Linked DNA regions of Homo sapiens: region 2 is linked to region 1. Evidence: promoter capture Hi-C in human tissues and cell types (Jung and others, 2019). All regions are on one chromosome and are shown on one strand. Each heading gives the region's core, a stretch centred on a gene start or on the middle of the fragment in contact. The rest is flanking DNA. Distances are from core to core; before and after follow the strand shown.

Region 1 (3,635 bases), core at 8-2,507:
CACAGTCCCTTACAATGAAGTAAATGCCAAACAAAGACGCATGCCCAGAGCAGTTATGGAAAGACCAATCAAAGACTTAGCAGGTTGATGATTTCATCATTCATTTAACATTTATTGAGCATGTACATTGTGTAAAGCAGTTAGCCAAATTAAGTATACATGAATTTACGGTATAAATGTGTATACATGTAATATATCATATACACACACACAAGCCCCACTTTAAAAAATTCCAGGCATCATGTGTCAATGATACAATCACTTTGAACGATACACCTTTTCTGTAATAATGTGTGTATTGCACAAAAAAATTCCAATAGTGATTAGTAACAACCAGATACTGTGACAGTGCCCCATTGCCATTCCATGGGAGATGCAAGAGCATTGTCTCAGTAATAAAATATGATGTTATCAGGCATTTATGGCTCCTGGGGAAAAAAATGCAATTGCTTGCTGTTTTGATATTATCTCTGACTATGCTTGCTTATCATTTGCCATTTCTATATTTAGTAGCCAGTCATTTTGAAGTTAAAAAAAAATCAAGGTTTGCATTGTAACCACAAACCAGTCTTTGTGAACAGGAATCCTGGAGGCTATTAATCAGCTTTTAAAGGAGGTAAGTCATGGTGGTGGTGGGGTATCTGAAATTTTGGAAGTTCCGAGCTCACTTTAAGAGTTGAGATGGGTGGGAGGGCTGAAAACACCACCATTCATCATTCTTCAGTTATCTCGAGACTCAACTTAAACATTTTTAATCAAAAAGATGGGAGGGGACACGGGTCACATCTCAGGTTTGGGGGAATGTGTGTGCGTGTAGATGTGAAAACTGAGCCAAAATATTCCACTGTGAAGAGATCTCCCTTCTCGGCTGGTGGACATCAACCTTACCAAGTAATCTTTGGAGCAAGTAACTACCAAATAAAGCCGTTCCAAAACTTCTACGTAAGCTCCTACTTTTTAATGAGTACGCATTTCTCCCCATTTTCTTTTCCTCTCCAAGGACTGAGATAGCTGGAGCAAGGATGGGTCCCCCTCTGATTTCGTCCCCGCCCCAGCCAATCTGAGCCCGGATGCTAATTAGCTGCGCTCCCCTGATGAACACGCCTTTGTCACAAGTAGGCCCGGACTACAAAGCCCAGAATGCCTCACCCCTCCCTGATCAATGAGGGCTTATTTAAATGATCTCTGAGGTCTTGGACCCAGGCCAATCAGCTGTCAGGGCTCATGATAAATCGCAATGCATTATTGATAATAATAATTACTGGGACATGCGCGTTCCGGCCGAAGGGGGGTAAATTTCCCAACTCCAGGAATTTGTGGCGGAGAGGGCAAATAACTGCGGCTCTCCCGGCGCCCCGATGCTCGCACCATGTCGAGGCGCAAGCAGGCGAAACCCCAGCACATCAACTCGGAGGAGGACCAGGGCGAGCAGCAGCCGCAGCAGCAGACCCCGGAGTTTGCAGATGCGGCCCCAGCGGCGCCCGCGGCGGGGGAGCTGGGTGAGTGGGGCTGGGGCGCCCGCCCGGGGAGGGGAGCTTCCCGGACGTACGCGGGATCCTCGAGGGCGCAGGCTTCGGGGAGCGGGCGGCGTCCAGCGCAAATTCAGGAGCCGAGATTTGGGGGCTCAGTGCCCGGGAGGAGAGGTCTCCTCCTCTCCCCACCACCCCGCCTTTTGCACATTTCACACTTTTTTCCTCTTCTCCCCTCTTGTGTAAGTTTCACCCCCAGCTTTCTCCCCTAATTGTAAAATTGACCCCCACTCGCTCCTCTGTTCTCGCTCCCGAAAGGTTCCCTTCTCCTTGTCCTCTGCCCCTCACTTAATTGGTTCCACTCCCCTCACTGGTGTTACCCCCCCCCCTTGTAACTTAGGTCCCCCTCCCTCGCGTCGCTCTCAAAAGAAAGAACCCCGGGGGATCCCCACCCTCTCCACCAGCCCCTTGGGGCTTTTCTTGGAGGCTGGAGGAGGGGCGCACCCCTGGAAGACCCCCCGGAGGAGGACGATCTGTTGCACGCGCCCCTCCCGGGCCAAGTGGGGGGAGGGGGCGCGACCTCTCCCCACCCTCAGGAGCTGGGGTGCGGGCCACCCGCGCTGCGCAGGGGATTGGAGGGCCCAGAGAGGTGGGGGAGGAGGGCTCAATGTTTCCCTTTAAAATTTTTTTCTTTTCTGGATTTCGCCTTTTCTGCCCGGGCTGCGCCGCCTGCCGATCTTCGCCCTAACCTTTCGGGGCCTGACCTCCAGCCATCTTTGATTTCCGACTTCCTAAAAATAACCGCGGCAAGCCCGAGGGTGCGAGCCCCCAGTGGCCGGGGTGGCGGGCGCGCGGCAGCCCCACTGGGGTGCACCGGCCTCCCGTTTTGCGTGGCTTTTCTGGAGCGCTCGGCTTTCCACATTTGCGCTTGGGTGTGAAAGGGGAGAGGTGGGGGGCCAGAGCGAACTCCCGCGGCTGACCTGGCCCACGCTTCCGCGGCCAGCGTTTCCCAGATCGAGGGGAGTTCGGGACCCCAGCCGCGCCAGGAACGGCGGGGCCAACTCTGTTCCCACTTCATCACTTCACCGCGGAGGTTTTAGGAGCGAGGCGGTTTTCCACTATCTCGTCTCCATCCCGGCCCGCCAAATTGTCGCCTGATAAGTTTTTAGCGTGCGCGTGGGGGGAGGGGGGATTTGTAGCCTCCTCTCCGGCCTTGTTCGTCGCTCCGCTCCCCGCCTGCTTTCTAATTTCCCTGCAGCAGACGGGTGTGCGCGGCAACCCCGGAGGACTCTCAGAGACCATCTCTGATACCCGGGGTTTCCCGAGAAGACGGTCGCCACTTTTTGGCTTCCGTATCCCCGCCTTTTTGTCGGAGACTGAATGTAATACATTTCCCAAGTTTATAATACGTCAATAGAATTCCCCGTTTAACATTTTTCCAGGGCAAATTAAAAGGATCGGCTTGACGGAGGGGATGGCTGGGCGTTTTCGGGGCGCCGGGTGGTCAGCGCAGCGCGCACCCGAGGTCCCAGGCGCCTGGAGGGACTCTCTTTGTGCCTTGGTTGGGGGCGGGGTGGGGTGGGGGTTGAGGGGAGCGTGAAGGCTTCGTGGCCTGGCCCACCTGGAACAAAAGGGTTAACCCTCAGCCCGCCTGCTTCCTCCGGAGAGGAGGGGCGAGCTCCTGGTTCTGACCCCTCCCCTGGTCCTACGCTGACCTCCCCTTCCCCCTTCATTTTGGGTGGGCGCACACACGTGGGGCTTTTGGTGGTGTTTGGCACCTTTCGGGAGGGAAGCTTGTTACGAGAGGGCTTCTGAAATTAACGATGGTTGGAGTTTGGAATCAGAGTCAACCTGAGCTGAGCTAAAACCTCGGGCCTGGCCGTGCGCTGCCACTGCGATTTGGGAGGGAGGGGAGTTGGCTATTGATCACCAGGGTTGTCGCGGACAGCCCACCCGGCTTGCGCGCGGGCGCCCCCTGGAGGCCCAGCTTGAAGCCTAGCCCTTTGCTGGGAGGCGGGGTCCCTTCGCAGGTACTGGCTCACACCTGGTGGGTGGGACGGGTTGTGGGGGTGAATGGAGAGTGCTGGGCTGGGCCAAGGATGGGTACCCTAGGGGATTCGTGCCGGTCGCCTGCTTGATCGTCGTCTGTGCCCGCTGTTCTTTGCC
Region 2 (3,953 bases), core at 734-3,233, 46 kb before region 1:
GCTGGGACTACAGGCCCACAGTCACCACGCCTGGCTAACTTTTATCATTTTTGTAGAGATGGGGTTTCACCATGTGGCCCAGGCTGGTCTCAAACTTCTGGGCTCAAGCAATCCACCTGCCTCAGCCTCCCAGAGTGCTAGATTACAGGCATGAGCCACACACGAGTGCTAGATTACAGGCATGAGCCACACACTGGCCAGTTTGAGGTTTTGAAGCACTATCAGAGTATTTTGGTGTTTGTGGTTTTGTTTTTTAAAGAAATCCAGAATTTGAATAGAGTAGCCTGTGTTTGCACAGCCCCCAAGGTAGTCTCCTAAAGCCGGGAACATACATCTTCTTTTTTTTTTTTTTTTTTTTTTTTGAAACAAGGTCTCACTCTGTTGCCAGGGTGGAGTACAGTGGCGCCATCTTGGCCCACTGCAACCTCTGCCTCCCAGGTTCAAGTGATTCTCATGCCTCAGCCTCCTGAGTAGGTTGGGACTACAGGCTTGCGCCACCATACTCAGTAATTTTTGTATTTCTAGTAGAGACGGGGTTTCACCATGTTGGCTGGGCTGATCTGGATCTCCTGACCTCAAGTGATCTGCCTGCTTTGGCCTCCCAAAGTGCTGGGATTATAGGCAGGAGCCACCGCGCCCAACCTATAAGTCTTTTTAATAACCACTGTCCGGAGGGGACAACCACAGCTACCGTTGCTTTGTGCCACTTGCCTATGTCTTTCCAAATTTATCTTGTGGAACCCCCTCCATATGGGCGGTTACCACCCCTACTTGCCAGGAGGACATGGAGGCCCAGCCAGGTTAAGTCACTTATCCAAGTTCACTGGGACAACCAGAAGTTGCTCTGACTCTACAACCTACATTATTTAAGTTTGTGAAGTCTACAACCTTTCACCTTTGTCGAAAAGCTTGATGGATTTAATATGCTGGATGTATAAACATCTACATACACAGAAACATATGTATAGACATACATATGTAATATAATATAACAATATATGTCATACGTGATATAATATGGCAGAGTAACATAACAAAATTTGAGGAGTTGTTTATTTCACCCAGTCATCTAAGGTAAACAAGGAGACATTCATTGCAACATTCATTAAAACATTCATTGAAAAGTAATTATATAAACTTCCAAATCTAGGCCAGGTGCAGTGGGTGGCTTACACCTGCAATCCGAGCACTTTGGGAAGCCAAGGTGGGGGAGGATCACTTGAGGCCAGGAGTTTGAGAGCAGGCTGGGCAACATAGCAAGACCCTATCTCTAAAAAATATTTTAAAATTAGCCAAGTGCAATGGTGCCTGTCGTCCTAGCTACTCAGGAGGCTGGGACGGGAGAATCACTTGAACCTGGGAGGTCGAGGCTGCAGTGAGCCATGGTTGTGCCACTACACTCCAGCCTGGGCGACACAGTGAGACCCTATCTCATAAATAAATAACAAATAAGAAATATCCAAATGTCCTGGACAAGAGGCAGAGACTTCTCTTGACCCAATAACGGATCCAGAAGAAAATAGCGGAAGCTTCCTATTTTGAAAAATGGGTGGGACTCCAAGTGATATGAAACCTTTCACGTATTCATGAATGCTAACTGGAAAGATAGTTGGGAACATTCCAGAAGGTTATTCCTTCCCTCTTTCTCTCTCTCTTTTTCTCTCTGTCTCTTCTTCTCCCTCTCTCCTTGGGAGATCTTTGATAACCATCTTGGCCTTTGGAAACCTCTTTTATTAAGCCATCCTATTGTATGCTAAGTTATGGTGGCTGAGACTGATCCCTTCACAAAAGTCCTTTGTTTGGGGATTCTCTCAATAAGCTGGGACTCAGTGAATTATGCTTCTTCTTGGAAGCCTTTCTTAGCCGATTGTATTTACCTAAGGAAGCATTATTTTCTGTCTTGTTTTATTTTCCTCTTTTTCTCAAGCGTAATTCAGATATCAGGAAAGCATGAGAGAGATAAAGAAATTACCAACTAACAAGGAGTTTCTGCCTTCTAAGCTTTGAAAATGGTAGAGATTTTTTGTAACAAGCATGTATCACTTACAGAACTTTTTGAAAAATTGTATTTCTTCGGTACCGGGACCTTGTACCAGGAAAGATGTTTCTCCCCCAGCCCTGGAGATGACATGAGATGTTCTCATTCTGACATATTTCCCCTTGTCTGCTGTTCCTAGTCACTTTCATTGTTATTTAGTTTTACTTCAATATTCAGGGGTGGGAAGAAGGAAGAATAAACAGCTCTTTCCTATTCATTATTTTCATCCTAGAATAAGATCTTCATTATTGTAAAAATTAAAAAAAAAGGGGGAGTGCTTTAAAAGTAAAATTAAATTGGTTTTTAGTTTTAGTTTTGGTGCTGTCTTTAAAGAGAACTGGTGGGAACTTTAAGAAAAAAAAAAAAGCCGAGCCACATCAAATGAGAGCAGCAAAGGACGAAATGGCAATAAAGGAAGCATGGGGTGTGTGGGGGGTGTCCCCTCAGGATGGAGAATGTCCCTCTCCTTCCTTGAAAGGCAGCCTTCTTTTCATGGGAAACCAAGCCCCTGTGTTATTGGGCTCACAATGAGTTCTCCAGATGTAGTTCCCAGGAGTAAGGATTCTCAGAGAAATAAAAGAATCCTAGAAGCTTCTGTTTGTTTGTTTTGTTCTTGTTTTAGTAAGATTTTGAATAGGTAATGCATCCAAGTGCTTCAAATAATCACCAAGTTTAACAAATGGTGAAAAGTCTCTTAACCACTGTCCCACAGCCACCCATTTGTTCCCCTTCTCATAGTCAACCACTACTCCTTTATGTTGTATAATATGATACTCAGAGCTACATTGTGCATATACAACCAAATATAAATATGTATTCCACTCCCCGCTCCCTTTCTACACAATTGTCAACATATCATCCAGATGGCTCAGCCCCTTTGTCCTTGCATGAACCATTGCTCTTGGCCATTGTTCCATCTCAACACATATAGAGCTTGATCTTGTTTTTTTTTTTTTTTTTTTTTTGAAACAAGAGTATCGCTCTGTCACCCAGGCTGGAGTGCAGTGGCGCGATCTCGGCTCACTGCAACCTCCATCTCCCAGGTTTAAGTGATTCTCCTGAGTCAGCCTCCTGAGTAGCTGGGATTACAGATGTGTGCCACCACCCCCGGCTAATTTTTGTGTTTTTAGTAGAGACAGGGTTTCACCATGTTGGCCAGGCTGGTCTCAAACTCCTGACCTCAGGTGATCCTCCCACCTCAGCGTCCCAAAGTGCTGGGATTACAGGCACGAGCCACCACGCCCAGCCCTTTGATCTCTCTTTTCTATGACTGTATAGTGTTACGCTGTAAATGTCCTTTATTCTATTTAACCAATTCCCAAATGATGGGCCTTTATTGTTTTTGAGACAGTCTTTCTCTGTCACCCAGGCTGGAGTGCTGTGATGCGATCTTGGATCACTGCAACCTCCACCTCCCAGGTTCAAGCGATTCTCCTCTCTCAGCCTCCCAAGTAGCTGGGATTACAGGCACGCGCTACCACACCCAGCTACTTTTTGTGTCTTTAGTAGAGACGGGGTTTCACCATGTTGGCCAGGCTGGTATCAAACTCCTGACCTCAAGTGATCCGCCTGCCTGGGCCTCCCAAAGTGCTGGGATTACAGGCGTGAGCCACCGTGCCCGGGCTATGATGGGCCTTTAAGTTGTCTTCAATATTGGGCTATTACAAACAGTGCTCCTGTGAATTATCTCGGTTGCACATCATTTCTCACATGTGTGAGTAATTCTGAGGGCACCTCCCCCCAGGAGGAATTGGTAGGTCAAAGAGAGGAGGGACTTGAGATGTCCGTGTTATTTGTAAGATTAGTTTTTTAGGTCCTCAGCTTTATACTATCTTAATATTTAAATTTAAATTACCCAAGTAATGCATTAAGCAGTTCTGTCTGGCCGGGCGCGGTGGCTCACACCTGTAATCCC

Evidence for each region. The method cuts DNA at HindIII sites, captures the fragments that hold promoters and counts their contacts. A contact is called where the count stands out against the background at its distance.
Region 2: a fragment that was not itself captured here is called in contact with the fragment with the promoter of SALL4 in region 1 in 4 of the 25 tissues and cell types used here (bladder, liver, mesendoderm cells and 1 more).

Annotation. Positions count from the first base shown.
Region 1 is chr20:51,800,143-51,803,777 of GRCh38, reverse strand. It overlaps SALL4 (spalt like transcription factor 4), which reads left to right and starts at 1,257. Exons shown (of 4, transcript NM_020436.5): 1 at 1,257-1,499. The coding sequence starts at 1,370. RefSeq lists enhancers at 911-1,552, 2,196-2,838, 3,354-3,403, 3,551-3,635. The HindIII fragment of the contact is 8,319 bases long and covers 1-3,635 here.
Region 2 is chr20:51,846,376-51,850,328 of GRCh38, reverse strand. The region is part of intron 1 of LINC01429 (long intergenic non-protein coding RNA 1429); the gene reads left to right. Among named protein-coding and RNA genes, the nearest start is that of LINC01429, 15 kb to the left of the region's middle. RefSeq lists an enhancer at 3,350-3,850. The HindIII fragment of the contact is 4,103 bases long and covers 1-3,953 here.